Linked DNA regions of Homo sapiens: region 2 is linked to region 1. Evidence: promoter capture Hi-C in 16 types of primary human blood cells and fetal thymus (Javierre and others, 2016). All regions are on one chromosome and are shown on one strand. The core of a region is centred on a gene start or on the middle of the fragment in contact, and the rest is flanking DNA. Distances in the headings are between cores, read along the strand shown. Region 1 holds the start of LARS2-AS1 (LARS2 antisense RNA 1). Region 2 overlaps EXOSC7 (exosome component 7).

What was found. Contacts are between HindIII fragments. The CHiCAGO score rates a contact against its expected background, and 5 or more counts as called.
Region 2: a contact is called between a fragment that was not itself captured here and the fragment with the promoter of LARS2-AS1 in region 1, in 2 of 17 cell types (M1 macrophages and M0 macrophages). The highest score is 6.1, in M1 macrophages.

The regions. Positions count from the first base shown.
Region 1 is chr3:45,508,263-45,510,834 of GRCh38, reverse strand. It overlaps LARS2-AS1 (LARS2 antisense RNA 1), which reads left to right and starts at 1,290. Exons shown (of 4, transcript NR_048543.1): 1 at 1,290-1,478. The region is part of intron 15 of LARS2 (leucyl-tRNA synthetase 2, mitochondrial); the gene reads right to left. RefSeq lists a silencer at 924-1,218 and an enhancer at 2,045-2,572. The HindIII fragment of the contact is 1,698 bases long and covers 788-2,485 here.
Region 2 is chr3:44,994,221-44,996,792 of GRCh38, reverse strand. The region is part of intron 3 of EXOSC7 (exosome component 7); the gene reads right to left. Among named protein-coding and RNA genes, the nearest start is that of EXOSC7, 19 kb to the right of the region's middle. The HindIII fragment of the contact is 3,022 bases long and covers 1-2,572 here.

The DNA.
Region 1 (2,572 bases), core at 41-2,540:
AACCAATGCCTGACAACTCTCAGAGCTGTGAGGGAGGAAAAGAAAGAGTGCAGTCATATTTGAAGAGCTCCTCCTCCCAATCAAGTCCAAATTCCTCCGCATAGCCATCCAGGACTTCTCCCTGTCCCCTGCCACTCCCTCTGCTCTTTCAAATGTTGCCTGCATGTGCTTCCACGTCTTTACTCACGCCATTTCCCAAACTGTTATCAAAACTCTAGTCCTCCTTCCTGGCTCAACTCAAATGCCATCTCCACTGAGAAGGTATCTCCTGGTCAGAATTAGAATTAGTTGTTTTTTCCTTCCTGATGCATCCTGTGTAGTGCCTGTAATTGTATCTAGCAGCTATTACATTTTATTGTGTATTTAGGTAAGCTGCTTGCCTGTCTTTCTCCTGTGAGGAGTAGGAGGATGATTTTTTTTTGAGACAGGGTCTTGTTCTGTCACCCAGGCTGGGGTGCAGTGGCACAATCACAGCTCACTGCAGCCTCAGTCTCCTGGGCTCAAGTGATATTCCCACCTTACCCCTGCAAGCAGCTGGGACCACAGGCGCGCACTACCACACCCAGCTAATTTTTTGTATTTTTGGTAGAGATGAAGTCTCACTATGTTGCCCAGGCTGGTCTTGAACTCCTGAGCTCAAGCAATCCTCCTGCCTCGGCCTCCCAAAATGCTGGGATTACAGGCATGAGCCACTGCTCCTGGCCTTGAAAATCCTTAAAGGCCACTCTCAGTCTCCAGTTCCTAACAGATGCTCAGTAATGTTAATTGCCTTGAACTCAATCAAGCTTGTTTCAGTGGATGAATAAACCTACCAGCAGCAGGGGTGGGGGATAATGTGAGTAGGACAAAGTGGAGGCAAGAGAGGAGGGAAGAAAGAAATGAGTGAAGTGGGGCACTGGATGCTATACTTTCCAGCTAGTGCCACCATCTTTTTGCAGGGAGGGGTGCATTGAAAGATCCCAAGCAGCTGAAGCAAGAGAATGAGAGCAGGGGAATGCCCCGATGAGTGCTCACATGGAATTTCCCAGTGGGGAAAGGGGCGCTTCCCAGCTCCTAGAATCCTGCTCATTCCCAAGTGTTTTCCCTCCACTTTTCCAGGGAGCCAGGGAATGGGCTATAGGGAGTTGGGAATCTGGTTTTCACTCTTGGCTGAAGCTGGCCATGTCTACTCTCATGCGTAGTTTAGCTCTGAATGAGTCACACTTGTTTATTCATTCAACATGTATTTACATGATAATTGGGTACACAGCACTAGGCAATTAATTGGAGAGCTTACAATAAGAACAGGCAGCCCAGGACATGCTCATAAATAACCATCAGCACTACAAGAAAGACGTACCAAATGTGATTTGGAGGCGCAAGGTGCACAGGAATGAAGGACAAAGGACATCAAGGGCCCTGCTGGACTTGGAACCCAGGCCTGCTGGAGCAGAGATCACATCACATTGCCAAGTTCATTATTCAGATTCACAATTGGGGTAATGTGTTTCCCTTTTGTTCACTCATTCATTCACTCAACAGATGGTACTTGGGAACAGACTTGCGTATGCAACTGAGTTATTCATTCATCATAGTGACTGTGCACAGCAGGGGCCTTTATAAGTGAGTGGAAAATCTGCAACTCTAAACCACTAACAAACCGTTCTGACTCAGGGACCATCAAACGCGGGAGTATTAGGCAGGGCCTCTGCCTTGAAGAAGGCCCTGGATTTCTGAGTCAGCTTTCTTCCTACTCCTTCGGTACATCCCTGGAGGTAGATCATGCTTGCTTGCACTGAAGCACAGCTATATGTAAGCACAGTGATGAAAACTGGGGGGAGATCTTCACAATTTCTTCATTAGTTTAGACTGCACTAACTCAGAAATTGCAACAACTGATAGCTGCTGGGCATTGAAGGCCACATTTGTCCCACTTGGAAGAAGGAAAGAAGGAAGGGAGGGAGGCAGGGAAAGAGGGGAGGAAAGGTAGGGAGGGAGGAGAGGGAGGAAGGGAGGGAAGGAAGGGAGTTGCTAATTATTAGGATAAACAAGGAAATTCAGAACATTGATTGATTGGCCATGTTAAGTGCTCTTAAAAAAATCACTATATACAAGGAATGTGCTAATTACAGTATGAGCAAAGAATATCAGGATGTATCAGAGCCCCACCTTCTTGCTGCAGATGACATTTACCTATTCATGAAGCCCCAGAGAGCCTGCTGCCCACTCCCCTGACCTGGTGCGAGAGTGGCCTGCCAGGCTGCAGATCTTTGAAGGCCATAGATCTCTGAAAATGGTCTCCAAATTGGACTTTTCATTAAATCAGACTAAGTTTACCTTCCTCTTCTTCCTTGTTCTGTGCCCAGGGCCATCATGTCACATAATTAGCCTAGTTTCTAAGTATTAGCCATGGCTCATTCTTGAAATATCACCATTCCCATTTCCTAGCAGCCAGTTAGTGGCGCAGAAGGAGGGTTTACTAATACAGCAGGACCCAAGTAAAGCTTCTCTTCCCTTCCTGTTCCTTTTCCCAGTAGCCCCGTTTCTGGCATGATCAGAGTAACAGAGAAGAAAGCTCTGTGGATAGGGGCTT
Region 2 (2,572 bases), core at 35-2,534, 510 kb after region 1:
CCTCGGCCGATAATAATTAACTCTCTTATCTTCAGAGTATAATAAATACTCTTCTCTGGCAGGCCTAGGAAACTGAGAGGCCTAGGGAATGAAGCAGTCTGGGTTACAGAGGGGTTTTGTCATATACACCACCTCTAGTTTCACAGCTTTAGAACACACTACGATACTCTCAATATAAAAACCACAATGTAAGTACAATAACCTTTCTGGAATAACTTAAAAGACATGTATGATAGTATGTCAGAGCTTTGTCAGAAACTTTAGATATCACTGTACTGAAGAGAAGGAAAATGAAAGAAAGCAAGGGAAAGATTGTTGGCTTGTAAGTAGTAGGTTACCTCCTTCATTTGATATTTTTCAAGAGAAAAACTTTTTTTTTCCCTTTTTGGCTTCTTGATATTTATGCCCAATAACCTCAACAAAACTAACAGGATTCAACATTAGCCACCCTAAAAACACTGAAGTGTTTAACAGGACATTTCTGAGAGTTTTTGGCTTAATACAAACAAACCCTTAATATGTATATGAGGTAAGTAACATTCTAGTAATTATTTTACTGTAACAGTAAAGGACTAGAAAGGTAAGAAGCCAGTGGTTTCAGCATGGACTCTATAAAATCACATATTAAAGCCTTCTGACCCCTTGCCCATCTGGAAGGCACCCAGCCCTGCACCAGCTACCAGAGACCTAGAGACTAAGTGAGGTGGATGCAGACCCAAAGCCAGCAGTTCCAGTGAGGTAGGGGAGTTTCACCATAGGGAGCAAACAGTGAGGTAGAAGCGGGAGTAGGGGCACAGGAGTGTCAATTAGCATTCAGGTTTAAAGGCGACCTCAAACCTGGGATGAGCAGAGCTGGTCAGGCCAGAGAGGCAGGAAGATTCCAGGCAAAGCAAAACCTGTGTGAACGCCCATGGCAGTGCCCACCCTATTTGTGTAACACTAAAAGAAATCTCACTTAGTAATATAGGTGGAAGAATGAATCCCAAATTAATCAGACTATGTTGTTACATAAAATTTTGCCTCTCTAATTATGTACTCCTCCTTTACCACTGTGAGCCAGCAGAATCCCCTTTAAAGTCCCCAAGAGAGACTTCATTACTGCCATAGCAACCTCGCTGTTCCCTGCCTTTGCTGGACTCAGGCACTGAGCCAAGAAAAGCAGCTCATTTATGGTGAAATAATCAAGTCAACAGGGACCAGGTTTTTACTTTGCACAGCCAGCAAAACACAACCTGTTTCTAATTTAAACACTAAGCAATCAATATTAAGTCCCAGGTCTTAAGTGCTTAAAAATACATCTACAGAGATTTCTGTGTACACAAATCCAGCCAGAGATGCTTACACTCAAAATGTTTACCTTTCCCTGAATGTAGTGGGCACATCCTCCTGGGTGTGACTAATTTCTTTGGGATTAATGCACTAACTCTTCTACAGCCTTGGGAGATGATTTATAGAGCTTCCCAGGTCCAACTGTCTAAATTAATCTACCTATAAAACCATGCATGCCCCTGGCCAGGCGTGGTGGCTCACGCCTGCAATCCCAGCACTTTCGGAGGCCAAGGCGGGTGGATCACCTGAGGTCGGGGGTTCGAGACCAGCCTGACCAACATGTAGAAACCCCGTCTCTACTAATAATACAAAAATTATCTGGGCGTGGTGGCACATGCCTGTAATCCCAGCTACTTAGGAGGCTGAGGCACAAGAATCACTTGAACCTGAGGCAGAGGTTGCAGTGAGCTGAGATCGCACCACTGCACTCCAGCCTGGTCAACAAGAGTGAAACTCCGTCTCAAAATAACAACAACAACAACAAACCCATGCCCCACTGGTTTTTTTTTGACACTGGGTTAAAGTGGAAATTTTTACCTATTTTTAAATGGCTTAAAACACACACACACACACACACACACACACACACACACACACACACACACACCCATTCTTCCACCATAGCCAGCAGTCAGACAGAGAGGAAGGTTTAGAGACTCATGAGCCCAAGGAACTCTCCTGTAACTGGATGGTGCCATAGCTGTGCAGTGACTCTGGGGAGGAGGCTAGGAAAACGGAAAGCAATTGTTCAGGGTGGGGGATGGGGTACAATGCTTTAAGCAACATAAGAAAGCCACAGACCCCATATTCTGCTGATGTGTGAAGACAAAGGCTGGAATAGAGAAATGAGGATTCCACTTCACTACTGGGCACTCACAGCCCAAGGACTCTTTCTGACAAATTTAGACAGAAATGTAGACCTGGAAAAGGCCTTAGAGACCATCTCCAGAGGATAAAAACCCAAATGGCTATAGGGGTCAGCAAGGTTACTACATGTATCTGAACAAAGGGCCACATATAACTAATAGAGAATGATGGAAGCTGTGGCAAACTTTCTAGCCCTGATTTAAGGTCCACCTTAAAAAAAAAAAAAATCCCTACATGAAACAAAAATCTCCCAGGTGGGATCTGACCTGTGGGATGACACTGTGAAACCCCAGATGGTCTAACTCTCTCATTTTACAAGAAGGGAGACCTTATCTTTTTTTTTTTTTTTTTAATGTTTAGCATGAGCTAGACACCA